Regions from separate parts of the Homo sapiens genome. Here region 2 is linked to region 1. Evidence: promoter capture Hi-C in human tissues and cell types (Jung and others, 2019). All regions are on one chromosome and are shown on one strand. The core of a region is centred on a gene start or on the middle of the fragment in contact, and the rest is flanking DNA. Distances in the headings are between cores, read along the strand shown. Region 1 holds the start of AFAP1L1 (actin filament associated protein 1 like 1). Region 2 overlaps ABLIM3 (actin binding LIM protein family member 3).

Evidence for each region. The method cuts DNA at HindIII sites, captures the fragments that hold promoters and counts their contacts. A contact is called where the count stands out against the background at its distance.
Region 2: a fragment that was not itself captured here is called in contact with the fragment with the promoter of AFAP1L1 in region 1 in 2 of the 25 tissues and cell types used here (H1 embryonic stem cells and IMR-90 fibroblasts).

Annotation. Positions count from the first base shown.
Region 1 is chr5:149,270,361-149,276,529 of GRCh38, forward strand. It overlaps AFAP1L1 (actin filament associated protein 1 like 1), which reads left to right and starts at 1,499. Exons shown (of 19, transcript NM_152406.4): 1 at 1,499-1,624. The coding sequence starts at 1,609. RefSeq lists enhancers at 1,478-2,017, 2,018-2,559, 2,560-3,099. The HindIII fragment of the contact is 7,342 bases long and covers 1-4,716 here.
Region 2 is chr5:149,217,557-149,223,376 of GRCh38, forward strand. All of the region lies in intron 8 of ABLIM3 (actin binding LIM protein family member 3), which reads left to right. Among named protein-coding and RNA genes, the nearest start is that of AFAP1L1, 51 kb to the right of the region's middle. The HindIII fragment of the contact is 4,420 bases long and covers 1,525-5,820 here.

The DNA of each region.
Region 1 (6,169 bases), core at 249-2,748:
AATTTGCCCATAAAAGCAATAGAGAAAATATTCCCGGCCAGGCTAGGTGGCTGGCGCCTGTAATCCCAGCACTTTGGGAGGCCGAGGCAGGTGGATCACCTGAGGTCAGGAGTTCGAGACCAGCCTGGCCAACATGGCGAAACGTCGTCTCTACTAAAAATACAAAAATTTGCCCGGAGTGATGGTGGGCGCCTGTAATTCCAGCTACTCAGGAGGCTGAGGCAGGAGAATTGCTTGAACCCGGGAGGCAGAGGTTGCAGTGAGCCGAGATCGCGCCACTGCACTCCAGCCTCGGCGACAAAGGGAGACTTTTCAAGAAAAAAAAAAAAGAAGAAAAGAAAATATTCCCAGTCCAGGAAAGTACAGGAGGGTCTTTCCCAGGCCTTTTGTTGCCTCCATACCTCTGTGGTAGCTGTTCCCTGTTCCAGAATGTTCTAAGTAGGGAACAGTGGTCAGCTCAAAGCTGAAAACCATGGCCTGGCCCATGGTGGGAGGAGCAGTGTCTAGGAGAACAATTGGTCCTGGACTTTATGAAGGGTCTTAAAGTCAGACATTTGATATTGTGTATAAATGAGTGAGACCTATTTTCACAGGGATATACTAATAAGGTGAAGAAGTTGACATTCTTCATACAGCTTTAAACTTAGATCCCATTACTGTTCCACACTGGTCATAGCAATATTTTCTACAATCTTGCGAAAAGTACACTTATATTGCACTGTATTTTGTATGCTAAAAGTATTCATTTCCACATTTTTTATCACCCTGTTCTGCATGTTTTCACGTGTTACTCATTTTTCTATTCTTTTTCTGAATTCTCCCAGATCCTCGTTATGTTTTCACGTTTTAGTACACAAGGAACCTCAAAAGTTGAAAGTGTCCCAAGCCCTTGCCCACCTTTCAGCAAGCCTCTCTTTCTCCCTTTCCCAGGTGCTTTTCTTTCTGAAGATCTTTGTTATTATTTAACTCCTCTTTCGCAACACCACTGACATTGCACCGGCATCGCCGCGGGCCCACTGTCTGGCTTAGAAGGTGCTCAAGAAAGACCCGCGGCGAATGGAGAAGACAAGCCCAAAGCCAGGAAATGGGTGGCGGCTGCAGGGAAGGGGGTTTTGATTCCCTAGGATAAAAACGCGCTCCAACAGTCTCCGCATTCCGGCATGGAGCCGGCTGAGGGGTGCGGTGGTAAGACCCCATCGCTAGCGGAGTGCAAGCAAAGCCGCACACCTCCTGGGTCCGGGCTGGGGCAGGCCGCGCGGGCGCGGGAACGAACGCGTGCGGACGGGGAAAAGGGTCCTCCAAGCCCAAGTGGGAGCGCCGCGGAGGGCGAGCGAGCGGCAGGGCGCGGCGGGGCGTGTGCGGCACCACGGGACAGCGGGCTGCGGCCCAGGGGGCGAGGCGTGCTCGGGTCTATTCCGGGAGCGGCTCTGAGGGGCGGGCGCGGGCGCGGGCGGGGCGGGGGCTGCCGGCGAGCATCCTGTCTGGGGGAGGGGACCGCAGAGAGCGCCGGCCGCTGGGCTGGCCTGAGAGCGCAGCGCGCCGGCCGCTACCAGCCGCGCCGGAGCCCCTGCGCCCTGCGGCCCGCTCCCCGGGGACCGGGCCGGCGCCATGGACCGAGGCCAGGGTAAGAGGGGCCGCGACGCCCGCACTTGTTGCGGCGCCGGGCGGGAAAGGGAGACTGGACGATCTGAAGCCGGAGAGGAGGAGGGAGAGAGGCGGGCGGTGGGGCGGGGGCTGAGGAACGCTCGGAGGGGACTGGGAGACGCGGCGCTTATGCAAAGGTGCCTTCGGCTGCCGGGACAACCCGGTGCGTGTCAACGCCCGTGTCCTGGGGCCAACTCGCCTCTCGTGTGTGAAATCAGAGTTTTCATAGGCTAACGATTTGTAACTTCATAAAAGATCCCCCTCTAGTTTCCGGAGGACAGCGAGCTCCTCCCACCTCATTCCACTCTAAAGGGGAAAACAAGGTGTACAGGTTCAACTCCCGAAACACCCGCTGTGGGCAGCCCCTAGGGAGAAGCTCTAGGGGACCGAAGTTTGCAGCTGCCTAGGGCATTGCGAGAAGGAGGAGCGCCGTGAGCAGGCGCGCGTGTGCATGCATGTGTGCGCCAGGGAGGGAGGAGGCGGGGGTGGTTCTATCCCGCACCAGCTGTGTCCTCGGCCCAGCCCTTCTCTCTGGACCAGCGACAAAGTTGGACTAGATGGTCTCCAAGGCACCTTGCCGACCCTTTTCCAGTGTATTTGGTAGACGTTTCACAGAAGTGGAGGGGACTTACTGAAATTGAGATTGACATAAGCCGAGAGGGCAGCATTCGTAGGGGGCTAGCGCACATTTTTTTCTGTTTGTTTTGTTTTGTTTGAGACGGAGTTTCGCTCTTGTTGCCCAGGCTGGAGTGAAGTGGCGCGATCTTGGCTCACTGCAACCTCCGCCTCCCGGGTTCAAGCGATTCTCCTACCTCAGCCTCCCGAATAGCTGGGATTAGAGGCATGCGCCACCACACCCGGCTAATTTTTGTATTTTTAACAGAGACGGGGTTTCACCATATTGGCCAGGCTGGTCTGGAGCTCCTGACCTCAGGTGATCAGCCGGCCCCGGCCTCTCAAAGTGCTGGGATTACGGGCGTGAGCCACCGCGCCCGGCAGCGCACATTTTAAGTAAAGGTCTAGACATGGCCTTTGGCAATGGCCAGATGGGCATGTGTGTGTCTGTAAAGAAGTGGCCTGCTTGGACATGTGAACAGTGTCAGAGGCTGGGAATCAGAACCCCAGGGTTTCAGTCTGCACCTCTGGGATCCAAAGAGATCACAGGTGTGACGGCACTAGATAAACTAGTGAGTGCTGTGCCAACAGGCGAAGTGTTGTTGTTGTTGCTGTTATTAATAATGGAAAATTCATTCCCCTCCCCACGATAATCTCACACCTCTCCCCCATCTGCCTGTTTGCTGTGCTGAGCCCCCGAAGGGAGGAAAAAAAGAAGGGAACAGGGGCATGGGAGCAATTAGCAGGCACTGGGGCAGGGATGAGCCGGGAGCAGGTGTGGGGTAACCTCCCTTACTCCTGTTAAACGGAAAGTCAGGCTTGGCGAGCTCAGAGGGCCAGAGGGGACTCCTGGCTTCCAGTTCAACCTCCTCACTTGCCCCTCCCCAACAGAGAATACTGCATTCACCTTCTCCTTCAGGGACTGGGAAGGGCAGGCAGGAAAGAGAGTGGGCTTCTGTTTGGTTCTTTAGCAACTGAGGCCTAGATTTGTAAAGCAGTTCTCACCTGTTAACTGATTTCTAGGCAAGTGTGAAGAGTGTACATCAGGGAGGAAAAACAGAGAGAAGAGGCACCTCTCACACCCCTCAGTCCTGCTGTTCCCACCTCCTGCATAATGCGTCTAAAGCAAATACCACCATCCCCCCTCCCCTTCACACTCCTAGTCGCCCGCCACCTCCCCAACCTCTCCACCACCCCCACTCCCCACCAGTTTTTAAATACCAACCTGTCTGATCTCCAGTACAAAAATCCATACCTAGGCCTACCCAGGCCTGTGGAAAGTGCACTGTGTCATCCTAAGACAGAGTGACAATAGTTCACTTCACTTTAAATGCTTGGTAACCAACAACCTCCACGTCAGAAGGCTGCCTCCAGAGCACTCTTCCTAGGAAGTCAGACTTCCCAGGAATCCCTTGGTGCTGAGAGCCTAGGAGGGCTCTGACCTGCTCTCTCCCTGCAGGCTTTTCTAGCCTGCTATCTTTCTTTACACCTCTTGTCACAACTTTATAGACATAGTTATCTGACTCTTTAGTGTCGGCCTCCCTACCCAGAAGTAAGCTTCAGGAAGGCAAGGAGTGGATCTATTGTGATCAATCTGCTGACACTGCACCTGGCACATAGTGCACAGTGAGGAGCTCCAACAGTGGTTTAATTAGTAAAATACAACACACTTTATAGTGCACCTCGAATTGATTACTTGTACAGCAATACTTAGTAGTATTCTCTTTTTAAAAATCAACATTGCTGTACAAGTAATCAGTTTGAGAATAGTACTAAGTATACTCAGATCAGTTCTTGGTGACTTACAAAGGCCATCTCAAGTAAAGTGGTCTTGTGGCTGGGCACACAAGATCAGTTTAACTGTCTGGCTCCTCAGTTCTCTACTCTGATAAATAATTGCAAACACAACCGTTTATGAATCAGAATGAAAAATCTGCATGCATTTTTAAGATAAAACATGAGACTTCAAGTATTCCAGGCTGGGCACAGTGGCTCACGCCCATAACCCCAACACTTTGGGAGGCCAAGGTGGGTGGATCACTTGAGGTCAGGAGTTCGAGACCAGCCTGCCCAACATGGTGAAACCACATCTCTACTAAAAATACAAAAATGAGCTGGGTGTGGTGGCGGGCGCCTGTAATCCCAGCTACTCGAGAGGCTGCGACAGGAGAGGAGGCATCGCTTGAACCTGGGAGGTGGAGGTTGCAGTGAGCCGAGATCGAGCCATTGCACTCCAGCCTGGGCGACACAGCAAGATTCTGTCTCAAAAAAAAAAAAAAAAAAGTATTCCAGCAGACCTTTCTTGTACCCCTGTTCCCAGGCAGGTGTGCACTCTCTTCTGTCATCAGGGAAGGCTTAAGAAGCACAGGTCTCATTTCAGCCTCCTGCCTACCATGTGAGAGATGGGACTGTCATGCCCAGCTGACTAGGGAAGAAAACCACACATTGGTATTCACGATAATAACTGAAATCATCAAACTGTTGCCATGTGCCAGGCACTGTCCTCAGCTTCTTATGTGGCTCCTCTCAGAACAACCCATAGGATGGGGCCTATGAGCTGGGACTATCATGAATCATACCTCAGGGGAAAGCAGGCTCAGCCAGGGTATTAGCCAGCAAGGGCTGCAATAACAGAATACACAGACTGGGTGGCTGCAACAACAGAAATTAATTTTCTCACAGTTCCAGATGCTGGAAGTCTAAGATCAAGGTGCAGTCAGGGTTAGTGTCGGGTGGGACCTCTCTTCCTGGCTTGTAGGGACACTTTTTGCCATGTCCCTTCGTGGCCTCTTCTCTGTGCATCCAGAGAAAGATCTCTGGTGTTTCTTCTTCTTCTTCTTCCTCTTCCTCTTCTTCTTCTTCTTTCTTCCTTCTTTCCTCTTTCTTCATTTTTTAATTTTTTTTGAGACAGAGTCTCACTCTGTCACCCAGGCTGGAGTGCAGTGGTGGGATCTCGGCTCACTGCAAGCTCCGCCTCCTTGGTTCATGCCATTCTCCTGCCTCAGCCTCCCGAGTAGCTGGGACTACAGGCGTGCACCACCATGCCCAGCTAATTTTTTTGTATTTTTAGTAGAGATGAGGTTTCACCACGTTAGCCAGGATGGTCTCCATCTCCTGACCTCGTGATCCACCCGCCTCAGCCTCCCAAAGTGCTGGGATTACAGGCGTGAGCCACCATGCCCGGCCGTCTCTTCTTCTTCTAAGGACACCAGTCCTATTGGATTAGAGCTCCACCCTTGCAACCTCATTTAACCTTAATTACCTCCATAAAGACCCTGTCTCCAAATACAGTCACACTTGGGGTTAGGGCTTCAACATATGCATTTGGGAGGGACAAAATTCAGTCCATAACAACAAGCTTAGGTCACTGACATTAATTTGCTCATTCATTCTCCATATGAGACACAGAGCTGTGGTTCAAACCCAGCTGTCTCCATATCAAAGTCCTGATCTTAAGCTTGCTGCTGACTGCCTCCTTGGTGGCAGGTGACCTGCCCAAGCCTTAGAGCAGAACCTAGATGCCAAATCTTCCTGTTTCAGGCCCCAGACATCTCCATGGCACTTAAGCTGCACTATTCAGATATTTCACAGCAATTGCTGTGAATTTGCTGAGCATAAAAAGCTCAGCATCAAAGTCAAGTGACTTGAGAATGGAAACAAACGCCGAAAGTAGAATTTCTCTTCCAACAGGGTATGTGTTTTCCCATGGGGAGAGAAAAGGATTCATAAAGCACAGTAACAAACATAGAAACCACTTATATCATAATGGCAATCCTTCCAGAGGGTTTTCTGATTCACAAATACCACACAAGAGAATCAACCATCAGGTAAAGCCAATGTCTATGGACACCGCCTTCTACAGAACAAGTTAATTAGCTCTCTGTCCCTGTCTACCACATCATACATCTAA
Region 2 (5,820 bases), core at 2,485-4,984, 51 kb before region 1:
CTTTCCATCTGCTGCTTCCCAGCCCTCTTACCCCAGGATTCTTACAACAGTCCCCTAATTAGTCTCCAGATTCTGCTCAGTCCTCTACCCTCTGCCCAGCCCACCATCCCAGGGCATCACGTGCTCTTGGCACTGCCCTGCTCTTCAGAGCCCCTCCCTGTCTGCCTATTTAGCTACAAACACTTCAGCCTAGCATTTAAAATCTTGCCAAGGTCCCAGGCTTCCTTTGTAGCCTTGAACATACCCGACACCTAAGCTACCAAAGCTAACTTTTGATCATTTATTCATCCACTCAATGATTGTTTCTTGAGCCCTGCCATGTGTAGGCTCTGTGCCAGCGTCCATGGTGAGGCTCACCCAGCCCTACAGTCCCCTGAAGGAGATGGGCATTAATCCATAATCACATAAATAAACATCAGCTGTGGTAAGTGTTATGAAGGAGAGAAGTGTGGGCCTTTGAGAGCACATAACGGGGTAGGAGGAGCCCCAGGAGGGCTCCCTGACGAAGGGCCAGGAGCTGAGATCCAGACCATGAGTGGGTGTTAACTGATGTTGTAGTTCATCTGGGCTGTTATAACCTCAGCAGACTGAGATACAGACAGGGCAGCTTATAAGCAGAAATCTATTTCTCACAGTTCTGGAAGCTGGGAAGTCCATGACCAAGGGTCCAATAGATTTGGTATCTGATGTGGACCCACTTTCTCAGAGATGGCACCTTCTCTCTGTGTCTCCACATGGTGGAAGGGGCAAGGCAGCTCTCTGGCGCCTCTTTTATAAGGACACTGGTCCATGACCTAATCACCTCCCAAATAGCCCTACCTCCTAAGACCATCACCTTGGGGGTTCGAATTTTGGCATATGGATGTGGGGGACACAAAAACATCCAGACCATAGCAACTGAACAAAAAGTGGAATAGGATGCACCAAAATGAGAGGACAGAGCCTGCAAGACTCTGAGGTGGGTGAAGAAATGGCGAGTGCATAAGGGCAAGTGGAGCCTGTGTGGCCAGGGCGCAGACAGAAGTGAGATGCAGCCAGGAGGCAAGCAGGGTGTATGGGCTGGGCCTTGTGGAGAGACTTTGTTTGGACTTAAAATGAACTCATGGCCCTTTCCCTTGTCTTCCTGTGCCCTTCTTTGGAAATCCTATCATTTGAGGCCCAGTTCAGTCACTACATGCTTCATAGGCACCCAGGATTTCCCCAACCCCACCCACAATTTAACACAGTCCTCTCTTCCCCCATCCCCACAGCCCTCTGTCTGCCCCTGGTCCCCTCCAGCTTGTATGAGAGTTGTTGGCCTCCTCCCTAAGGTCCTGTGCTCCTGGCACTTGTCCCTCAGCCCTGACCCTGGCCCATGCATACTCCCTCCACAGGTGAATGTCATTGGTGGAATCGCTGTGATTGGATAGCCATCTTGAGAAGGAATTAGGGCCCTTCCTCCAGGTAGATCTAAGGCCAGGGCAGCAGTTACAGGGAGTGTGTCAGTATCAGCTTGTCCTAGCCACAATGCCCACAGCCATGAGTTCCCTCAAGATGCAATGAGTCCCCCTGTGCCTACAGCTGAGTTCCTTAGCCTCAGCACTGGTGACACTGTGGGCTGTCCTGTGCATTGTAGGGTATTTGGTACCATCCTTGGTCTCTACCCATTAGATGCCAACCACGTGCTTCTTCCCACTGACAATCAAAAATGTCTCAGATATTGCCACATGTCCCTAGGGGGTCAAAATCATCCTCAGTGGAGAACCACTGGCCCAGAGCTACCCAACAGAAACTTGTGCCATCTGCTAAGAATCCTGGAGCAGGAATTCCTATGTTGGATTAAACAAAGTGACCATTTCTAAGATGCTGTCTACTTACTTATATGAACTGATGCTGGAGTGGTAAGGATCCCAGAGTCACTCTAAACTGTAAAGTGCCAACCCTCATTGTAGAGATGGGGAAAATAGACCCAGAGAAAAGAAGAGACTTGTGTGAGAATGGGAGTGCGTCAGGGCAGAGCAGGGCCTGGCCTTGCGTCTCCCCTCCAGGGTTCTTTCCACTTTACCCCTGGGACCCAGGCCCTGCCTGATATTCAGGTCCCTGTCCCTTCCTGTGCACACCAATCCCTCATTGCCTGGGTTCTTGAGTGATTCCTGCTGCAGGAACCAGTGTTATGAGGCTCAGCAACCTGCACCCTGCCTTCATCCTGACCACCATGGGAACCTGGAGTTTGCACTTGGCTTGAAAATTTGTTGCACAATATTCCTCTCCTCCTTCCCTGGTGAACAAACCTCCTAGTATTGAAACTGCCCTCCCATTCTCATCCCTACCTGGATATCACTAGAATAAACCACGTCTTTGCCTCCCTGCCTGAATTCCTAATCTTAATCTTTCCCTGTTGGGTGCTTTCACCCAGAGTGCCTCAGGGGGGATCCTGGCTCCACTGATTACTAAGTTTTTGACCTTGGGCAAGTCTCGTAACTCTCTGAAACTTGGCTGTCTAATATGTAAAATAGACCGAGAACAGTTGCTATAAGATATAGGTGTAGTAATTTCGTGACACATGGGAAGCTCCCATTTCAATCATTCATTTAGCAAATATCTATTGAGGATCTACTGTGTCCCCGCTGCTGTTCTCACAACTGAAGGTGTGGCAGTGAGCAAATCAGTCAAAGGCCCTGCCCTCATGGAGCTCACAGCCTCACAGGTTAGTGCTTTCATTCTTCCAACTTCCCACAGGTGCTAAAAGAGTTAAGCAAGGAAGTAAAGTGCATAGCTTTGTGATCCTGAGAGAGAATGCACCATTAAACCTACAGTGGAAATGCCTCCAAGGGTGGGAGATATTCTTAGTAATGAAGATGAGCCTGTCACCTTCTCATTAATTATCCCCATCCCTCTCCTGGCTCCTGGGAGAGTGGGAGTAATTGCAGGGCATTCAAGGACCTGCCTGAAAGGATGCTAAGTGATCCTGGAATGAGGGGGACCAGGCCAAGCAGTGCTAGAGTCACGCTCACTTGGGCTGTGAGTGTCTTGTGGGGGTTCTGCTACCACTGAGATCTGGGCCTTGGACACCCTCACCAAGTGGGGACACCAGGATTCAATATGATATCCCCCAGAATTGGCAAGAAAACCCTGCTCCTGGGTAGCTCAGGAGTGTAAAGAAGTGGCTGAGAGCCAGGACTCCCGGGTTCAAGCGTCAGCAATTCCACTAATAGGCTGTGACCTTGAGAAGTGGCTTCCTTCTCTGGATCTCTTGCTTCACCTGTAAAATGAGGATAACATCATCGTCTTTCATTGATCCACTCAAACTGGGGGCCACGCTATGTGCCAGGCTCTCTGCTACATGTTGGGCATTCAGAGATGAGTGAGGCAAGCATGCTTGCTGTCCTGGTGGAGTTCACTCTCTGGAAAGAGAAACCAACAGTGCCAAATAGAAGTGTAAACATTCAATGACAAGCTGTGACAAGTGCTGCACAGAGAAAGTTTTGAACAATGGGCATGTGTTATAAAGCCCCTGCTCTAGTCTGGGAAGCCAGGGAAGGTGCCCCTAAAAAGGGATATTTCAAGCCAAGACCTTGAAAATGAGTAGGAGGTGGGAGGCTGAAAAGGGCAGGAAGATTGAGGAGGCAGTGAGAACAGTGAGTGCAAAGGCCCTCCCTGGGTGGGTGGAAGCAGAACGAGGTGGAGAAACTGAGGCAGGCCCACTTACCTGGCACACAGAGAGCAACCATATGCCACAAGGTCCTCATGAACATTAGAGGAGAGAGTGAATGTGAAGGCACTGGGGACTCCATAAAGCAACTTATATAAGAGAGAGAGAGTGTTGGGATGCCTGCAAAGCTTACAAACCCAGCCTTGTCAGTTCTGGAGCTGGACACAGCATGGTACTGGCAAATGGTCCTTGGGAGATTCTTTGGGTGAGTTTGTTTGTGTTTTAATTGCTATGTGATGGCTTTCTGATGGGCTCTAATTGGGAGAAGTCTGACGTCTGTCTGGAGGAGAACTTCTGGGGCCCCAGGAGACAAGAGCAAGTTTTATTTGTTTTAAGTTCTGTTGTGTATTCAATCTTTTAACTGTGTTTGTAAAGATGCCAAATATCTAATCTGTTTGTTATCCAAACCCTTCATTTGGGCTTCACCAGGAAATTAGGTCACTCATTTTGTGCAGCAAAATAATGGCCAAAATGCTGCAGGTTCAGGGCAAAACTTATACTGAAATCCCAAAGGTTGCAGTTACTAGATCAGTGAGAGTTTTTTTAAAATCCCAAATGTGGTTCATGAGACAAATTTTGCTCTTGTTCTAAATGTGCCTGTACCCAGGAAAAGGGAGAAAATAGACTCTTCTTCTACCCTTCTGTCTACACCAAATACCCTCCTGTTCTAAGACCTGAGACAATAACCCTGGAATTACGTAAGTTCAGCTGCACATTTTAAAACAATTCGCTGTTATCATTTGTATATTTAACTAAAACCCACAAGGCAGGAAATCATTTATAAAATACTGGACAAACCTCACTCTGCTAAAGAAAAGTATTATAACAAATTATAGGTCTCACCAATAATAATGATAATAATAAAAATATTAATAATAATAAAATGCCATCATTTTATTATTATTATTAATAATATAATTATTATTTGTTGGTATACTTTGAGCATTTACTATGTGCCAAGTACTGTACTAAGAGTTTGAAACACAGTATCCCATTTTATCCTCACGACAACCCTGTCAGCTAAAAACTATTAATGTCCTCATTTTAGAGGATGAGAATGAAAGTTTCAAGAGCATACGCCACTTAGCCAAAGTGGGCCTGTCTTGCTAGGGTTCTTGGAGGCAATTTTCTTACATCTATATTACCAGAATTCTTAAACTGGTTCATGGTCAGCCTTTTGAACTCTATGAGTCTTCTGAAATTGCTTGCTAAATTTTGCATGCTAGGTGTGTTTCTTTAGGCAGAGGGTCCATAGCTTTCATCAGATTTTCAGAGGTGTCCATGGGCCAAAATAAAGTGAAGAGACTTGGTTCTGTGTTAACACAAATCCGAAACGGAGTCTCAAAAGCTTGTTTTGATAATTACACCAAACCCCAAACCCTTCTCTTGTGTAACTGAATCTATTTCAGATTACTTTTTTTTTTTTTTTTTTTTTTTTAGCTCAGAGGATACAAGGTCCTGGTTTCAGGAGCTGTGTATTTCTGGCATGGCTGGGTTGTAACTCAGAAAAGGTGCACTAAGCTGAGAGATGTTCAAGTGAGGGCCTCCCATTGTTATGGGTTGTGGAACGCCAGCCCTCAGTCATCATCTACGCATTTCATGAAACCACCCTCTAAAAGGCACTACTGTAGTATTGGTTGCTATAATTTCGTAGTTTAGCATTATTACTTTAAATTGGATCTCTCTACTGACAGCTTAGGTTGTAGGAGTTATGCTTAAAAACTTTAAATCTTATGTTTCCCCAATCCTACTACCTAATTTTAGATTTTTCAGACATATTCTGTTACTGTACTAAATTGATACTTCCTGAAGTCTGACTCTACTAAGCATATTTCATTTTAAATAGAGTATATTTTAATTTTTGGCGAGCTGCCATTTTTTTTTTTATTTAGATTTTAAGGGTTACCAAGCATCTTGAATCATATAGAAAGTATTACAGTGTAGTAGCTTAAGGTTTGTATTTCTAAAGTTTGTTTCCAGCTTCTCCTCTCAGGTCACCACAGACTCATGCCGATGTGGCCATTTTCTCGCCTGTCACATGTCACATCGACTTCAGCAGTCAATTTGTCCATGTTGGTCAGAATTAGGTCTAGAGTAGCAATTTCCCGGCTTACTTCCTCTATTTTCTG